Regions from separate parts of the Homo sapiens genome. Here region 2 is linked to region 1. The links are contacts of gene promoters, found by promoter capture Hi-C in human tissues and cell types (Jung and others, 2019). All regions are on one chromosome and are shown on one strand. Each heading gives the region's core, a stretch centred on a gene start or on the middle of the fragment in contact. The rest is flanking DNA. Distances are from core to core; before and after follow the strand shown.

Region 1 (3,526 bases), core at 648-3,147:
AAAAAAAATCAGGGCCAGGTTTGTCCACTCATTCAATAATATGTCTAGAACTATTATGTGGCAGGCACAGGGACATACAGAGATGTCCAAAGGCATGGTCCCTGCTCTCCGGGAGCTTCTGGTCTTAGCATGGGACACAGTCACTAAGTCAACGAGATCCTACTGGATAGTGACAGGTGCTCTAAGGGAATAAGATGAGATAATGGGATAGAAAGTGGCTGGGCTGGGACTGGGGGCTACTTTGGGTGGGCAATAATAACAGGCCTTTTTGAAGAAATGGCAGTTGAGTTGAAATGGATGAAAAGATGCAAAGATCCACGCTTTCCCAAATGACAGTTTGAGAGCAAAATACAGGTTCCCAGCCCCATCTTAGATTTCGTGAATGAAAATTTGAGGGGCAGGGCCTAGGAATTTGCCTTTTTTTCTTCCACATGATTCCCATGCACTTTGAAACTGGACACCTTCCTTGGGGCTTTTACTTTAGAATCACACTGATGAATTTCAGGGTACCTTCCAGTTCCCCGAGTCTGTGGCTTAGGGAAGGGAGCCTCTTTGTGTGTGAAAGCCAGGGGTAGGGAGAGGAGCAGGACTGCTTGTGGTCAGACTGCAGGATGCAGAAAATAAGCGTGCGCAGCTCCTCACCACACCGCGCTCACCCAGGGCCCTGCGTCTTTGGCTGTCAGGAGTTCTAAACCTGCCCCCCCGGAGGCCCTCCCTCATCCCACTCCCACTCCTGTTGAATTCCACATACTGAGAGGGTTGCAGTCATAGCTGCATGGATCAGTTCTATTTCTTGTGCGTTGGGAACCATTCCAAACAGTTGGTACATGCGCACTCTCCAGGCATATTTTTAGGATCCTAGGGTGGGTTGCCTGTGTCTCCCCGCCCCCACCCCGTCTGCCCCCCACCCCCGCACCATCCGCCCTGAGTGTGGGAGGGAGGTCTTCATGCTGCCGGCACTCGGGACCTGCCTGACCACCGACTCCGCCGGAGTGTGGGCTTTTAAACCTGCAGCAGCTGCTGCAGTAGAAACGCGCATTAGTCGCAGCAGACACAGGCAGCCTCAGGTGGGACAAGTCTTGTCTCTTCCAGCCTGTGGGGGAGCCACGGCTTCCCCCCCACAACCACCCCCTGCCCACGGAGCAAGAATGTATCTCCCTGGCAGGAGACCTGGCGCGAGGTGAATGGAGAAACCTGTTGTGTCCCCTTCCTTCCTCCCCTGGCCTCAGTTCCCCATCTATTCAATAGGAAGAACCCTTTGGGATTTCTTTGCGAGAGAAAGGGGAGTTTTGCTTTAAACGGAGCTCTTCCCGGCCGTGCGCGGTGGCTCACGCCTGTAATCCCAGCACTTTGGGAGGCCGAGGTGGGCGGATCACCTGAGGTCAGGAGTTCAAGACCAGCCTGGCCAACATGGTGAAACCCCGTCTCTACTAAAAATACAAAAATTATCACGCCTGTAGTCCCAGCTACTTGGGAGGCTGAGGCAGGAGAATCGCTTGAACCCGGGAGGCGGAGGTAGCAGTGAGCTGAGATCGCACCACTGCACTCCAGCCTCGGCGACAGAGCGAGGCTCCGTCTCAAAAATAAATGAATAAATAAATTTAAAATAAAATAAAAAGGAGCCCTTCCCCCTTTCACTTCCTCTCCTCCGCGATCGCTGCTTTCAGCTGGGCAACAGCACAGGGCGGTCCTGCGCATCCGGGGGGCTGCGCTCCCAGACCGGTGGCTGGGGAGTAGGTTGCAGGGGTGTCACTGTGTCAGGGGAGGAGGAGGAGGAGGAGGAAGAAGAGGTAGCGGCAAGGTCGCGGTCTGAGGTTCCGGTGCTCGCCGCCGCCCAGCTCCCAGCCGAGGCTTTCTCAACCGCGTCAATAAAAGGCCGCCCCGACCCGCCCCCGCGCCCCGCAGCCCTGCCGGACACCCCGGGCTGCAGCTGAGCGGGCGCAGACGGGCCGAGGCGGGCGCCGGGCGCGCAGGGACCGAGGGACCGAGTGCTCCCCATGAGCGCACGTGGGCCGGGCGGTCCGCAAGCCCGGCTGAGAGCGCGCCATGGGGCAGGCGGGCTGCAAGGGGCTCTGCCTGTCGCTGTTCGACTACAAGACCGAGAAGTATGTCATCGCCAAGAACAAGAAGGTGGGCCTGCTGTACCGGCTGCTGCAGGCCTCCATCCTGGCGTACCTGGTCGTGTAAGTTCTCCGCGGACTTTTGGGAAGGCGGGGGAGGGGCAGGGCGGGTGCCAGCCGCCGCGTCCTTCTCCAGGGTCCTGGAATTCGCAGGCGTGCACGCGGTTTTCCCGGTAGCTGGGGGTCTGTGAGCCTGCTTGCTGTGGGGGTCCTCTTTGGGTCCTTGGGTGTAGGAGTAGGGTGTAGAGAGGGGGCTCTCCACTCCCCCACTGGCGCTAGAGGTGATGAGAGGTGGGCAGGGGCCTTCTGGTTTCCTCGATTTATCAGGCTTTCCCTGCAGCTGCTTCTCCCAGAGTCGGGTCCCCACGTGTTAGGGCCATGGGAAGGGGGCAGGGATGCCAGGGGGCTGGGTGGCAGCTGTCGCCCCAGGAGCCTCCCTGGGCCTTGGCCTGGCAGCTGACCCAGGCGCCGGCAGGTTATTTATAATCACAGGGTGTCACTGCCTACTCAGAGCTGGAGAAACTCATCAGCCCGGCATGTTCCTGAGCTCCCTTCCGGTCAACTTGCCCCACCCGCGGCCAGCCTCTCTGGTGTCCAGCTGGGGGTCCTGCCCAGAGGCCTCTATCTCTGCACCCAGCTCGGCCATCCCCTTCCCCCATCCTCATGCCACCTGGCAGGAGCTGGCGCCACAAAGCCAAAGAGGCAACTTGTGGAGGCTGCTCTGCCAGGCGCCTTCAGAGCCCTGACCCCGGGGTGGGTCGGGGGTGAGCAGGTGGAGGGGAGAAGCAGCGCTGGACAATGGGGATGCGCCTCATTCCACTCGTTCAGTAAATGCGGTGGAGTTCCTCCTGCTTCCTCCTGGGAGGGCAGCCCTGACGCCTGGCTCTCCCTCGGAGGTCCAGCAGTCCGCGTTCTCTGAGCTGCATCCCCAGGCCCCTGGCCGCCTCCCACCTGAGCGGCCTCGTAGGCGCTGTGCTGTTGCTCAGCCAGGCCTGCCCGTCCTCCTCCACTCCCTTAGCATCCACTCAGCCCCCAGATCTGGGCTTTCCAGTAACTCCCTCTCCCTTCCTCCCTGGCCTTCCCACAGTGTAATTATTGGGCTTATTTGGGGGATCATTTGCCTGATGTCGCTGTCAGTCCGGGAATGCCCTGAGGGTGGGGCCCCAGCAGCACTTAACTGCTTAGGGAATAGATGTGAAATGAACGCATGAATGAATAAATGGAGTTGCTTTTGCTTGAACAATAGAAATTTAATTCTCGCAGTCCTGGATGTGGAAATCTGAGACGAGGGTGGTAGCATGGTTCGGGGTCTCAGGGGGGGCTCTCTCCTTGGCTTGCAGATGGCCACCCTCTCGCTGTGTCCTCACATGGCAGGGAAAGCAGGACATATTTAACTAAGTACAAGT
Region 2 (3,452 bases), core at 570-3,069, 780 kb after region 1:
ACAGACATAAAAGGAAAGAGTCCATAATTAGACTTCTTCAAAATTAAAACTTCTGCTCATTAAAGACACCGTTAAGAAAAGAAATGGGCCAGGCGCGTTGGCTCACGCCTGTAATACCAGCACTTTGGAAAGCCAAGGTGGGCGGATCGCTTGAGCTCAGGAGTTCAAGACCAGCCTGGGCAACAGGGTGAAACCCTGTCTCTCCCTACAAAAAATTCAAAAATTAGTCAGGCGTGGTGGCACCAGCCTGTAGTCCCAGCTACTCGGGGGGCTGAGGTGGAAGGATGGCTTGAGCCCAGGAGGTTGAGGCTGCAGTGAGCTCTGTTCGCACCACTGCACTCCAGCCTGGGCAACAAAGTGAGACCTTGTATCCAAAAAATAAAAACAAGAAAAGAAATGGGCCAGAAATGGTGGCTCAAGCTTGTAATCCCAACAATTTGGGAGCCCAGGCAGGAGGATCACTTGAGGCCAGAGTTTGAGACCAACCCGGGCGACATAGTGAGTCCCCATCTCTATTTCTAAAAAGAAGAAGGCCGGACGCAGTGGCTCACGTCTGTAATCCCAGCACTTTGGGAGGCCGAGGCGGGCGGATCACGAGGTCAGGAGTTCAAGACCAGCCTGGCCAACATGGTGAAACCTTGTCTTTACTGAGAATAAAACAATTAGCTGGGCGTGGTGGCGGGCACCTGTAATCCCAGCTACTCGGGGGACTGAGGCAGGAGAATCGTTTGAACCCAGGAGGTGGAGGTTGTAGTGAGCCGAGATGGCGCCATTGCACTCTAGCCTGGGTGACAGAGCAAGGCTCCGTCTCAAAAAAAAAAAAAAAGAAGTGGCCGGGCACAGTGGCTCGCACCTGTAATCCCAGCACTTTGGGAGGCCGAGGTGGGTGGATCACAAGGTCAGGAGATTGAGACCATCCTGGCTAACACGGTGAAACCCCGTCTCTACTAAAAATACAAAAAATTTGCCGGGCGTGGTGGCGGGCGCCTGTAGTCCCAGCTACTCGGGAGGCTGAGGCAGGAGAATGGTGTGAACCCAGGAGGCAGAGCTTGCAGTGAGCTGAGATCGGGCCACTGCACTCCAGCCTGGGCGACAGAGCGAGACTCTGCCTCAAAAACAGAAGAAGAAGAAAAGAAACGAACTTGACTAGAATATGTAAAGAACGCCTACAAGAAGACTACCGAATTTAAAGGAAGGAGGAAGGGAAAAAAGAACTATAAGAATAGTCAATAAGCATATGAAAAATATTCAACATCATTAGTCATGAGAAAATGTGGATTAAAACCACAATGAGATACCGTTCAAGTAGCTAAAATTGTCAAAACCAACAATGGCAAATGTTGATGAGGATGCAGAGCAGCGAGAACTCAAATGACACTGCTGGTGAGGATATAAGATGGCCTGACCATTTGGCAAACAGTGTAGCAGTTTCATATAAACAGTCACCGGCCAGGCATGGTGGCTCTCGCCTGTAATCCCAGCACTTTGGGAGGCCTGAGGAAGGCGGATCACTTGAGGTTGGGAGTTCGAGACCATCCTGGCCAACATGGTGAAACCCCGTCCCTATTAAAAATACAAAAAACTTAGCCGGGAGTGGTAGTGGGCACCTGTAATCCCAGCTACTGGGGAGGCTGAGGCAGGAGAATCCCTTGAACCCGGGAGGCGGAGGCTGCAGTGAGCAGAGATTGCGTCACTGCTCTCCAGCCTGGGCAACAGAGCGAGACTCCACCTCAAAAAAAAAAAATTAAGTTCTAGAACAGACAAAACTCACTTTTGAAAAAAATCAGAACACTGTTTGCTCCTCAAGGGGGCAGTTATGATTGACTGGGTCAGGACAATGGGAACTTTCTGGGGTTGCAGAAATGTCCTGTTTCTTGATCAAGGTATGGCTCACGTGGGTGTATCATTAGTCAAAGTATACAATACAATTAAGACTTACGCATTTCTGTGTCTGCAAATTTTTAAAAATCCAGTTACACCTAGAGTAATCTTCCAGAAGCATAAGCAAGTTGGCCTTAAAACATGAACAGAAGGCCGAGTGTGGTGGCTCACGCCTGTAATCCCAGTACTTTGGGAGGCTGAGGCCGGCGGATCACCTGAGGTCAGGAGTTTGAGAGCAGCCTGACCAACATGGTGAAACCCCATCTCTACTAAAAATACAAAAATTAGCTGGGCATGGTGGCGTGTGCCTGTAATCCCAGCTACTCGGGAGGCTGAGGGAGGAGAATCGCTTGAACCCAGGAAGCAGGGGTTGCAGTGAGCTGAGATTACGCCACTGCACTCCAACCTGGGTGACAAGAGCGAGATTCCATCTCAAAAAAAAAAGAGAACAGAATTAGGGAAAATAGGCACATGCTCAGGTGTGCACAGGTGAGGAGGGAAATGCATGCAGGTAAGTAGGTGCACATGCAGACATCTTCATGTTTTCTTTTTCTTTTTTTTTGAAACAGGATTTTGCTCTGTCACCCAGGCTAGAGTGCAGTGGTGCAATCATAACTCACTGCAAGCTCAATCTCCTGGGCTCAATCCATCTTCCCACCTTGGCCTCCAGAGTAGCTGGGACTATAGGCATGAGCCAATAGGCCCAGCTAATTTTTTAATTTTTTGTAGAAATGGGGTCTCACTGTGTTGCCCAGGCTGGTCTCAAACTCCTGGCCTCAAGGGATCCTCCTGCCTCAGCCTCCCAAAATGCTGGGATTTCAGGCATGTGCCACCATGCCCAGCCAACATCTCCATGTTCTTAAAGCCTCCTAGTTAGCATCCTCACCCTCAGTAGCCAAATAAGCCCTTCCTCATGCCTGCATTAAATCAGATGTGAACTTCCTTGGCTCCTGGATGGAGTCAAGAGAACAATGGGCAGTGGCTCCTGAGGAGATGGGGTTGTATCCCAACCATGTCCGGAGCGGCAACAGAAACACAATCGATGTGGAGACCAGAGGTGACTCTCCCAGGACCCACAGAGCTTCAGCAAGGGCCTCCCTCCAGCAGTAGGGATGGAGGGAATATATATCTGTCCTCTCCTGTCCCTACACAGGGTTTTCTTGAAGAGGGAAAAACCAAACCTCCTTGCTGATGTCCTTCAGCCCTTCCTGCCCCAGCCCAGAAAGGCTCCCGTCAACCCTCCCACAAATGCCTCCTCCCTTCATCCATCCAGAGCTGGTGGATGTATGGGGGGCTGACACTGTCACTCCACCCTGATGAGGGGCAAGTCTCCCTGCACAGCCTAACAGAAGACAGGAGGCAGGAACCAGGAGCAAAAGAAGAGACGAAATCAGGCCGGGGGCTGTGCTACAAGCTGGAACAGAAGCCCCCACACACCACCCCCCAACCCCAGGGAGAGAGGGTGGCCGGTGGGTAATCCATGAGCCAGAAAGGGAGGCCCAGCCCAGCTCTGCCCAGAGGGATAGAGAGGGGCAAGGAGGAGGCTCCTCTGATCTCCATCCTCTTCCCTG

What was found. Contacts are between HindIII fragments. The study calls those that stand out against the background at their distance.
Region 2: a fragment that was not itself captured here is called in contact with the fragment with the promoter of P2RX5 in region 1 in 1 of the 25 tissues and cell types used here (dorsolateral prefrontal cortex).

What each region holds. Positions count from the first base shown.
Region 1 is chr17:3,694,526-3,698,051 of GRCh38, reverse strand. P2RX5 (purinergic receptor P2X 5) reads left to right here and starts at 1,897. Exons shown (of 12, transcript NM_002561.4): 1 at 1,897-2,183. The coding sequence starts at 2,047. P2RX5-TAX1BP3 (P2RX5-TAX1BP3 readthrough (NMD candidate)) reads left to right here and starts at 1,648. Exons shown (of 15, transcript NR_037928.1): 1 at 1,648-2,183. RefSeq lists a silencer at 1,668-2,027 and enhancers at 2,148-2,197, 2,310-2,826. The HindIII fragment of the contact is 15,075 bases long and covers 1-3,526 here.
Region 2 is chr17:2,912,169-2,915,620 of GRCh38, reverse strand. All of the region lies in intron 3 of RAP1GAP2 (RAP1 GTPase activating protein 2), which reads right to left. Among named protein-coding and RNA genes, the nearest start is that of RAP1GAP2-AS1, 52 kb to the left of the region's middle. RefSeq lists enhancers at 1-592, 3,093-3,452. The HindIII fragment of the contact is 3,290 bases long and covers 175-3,452 here.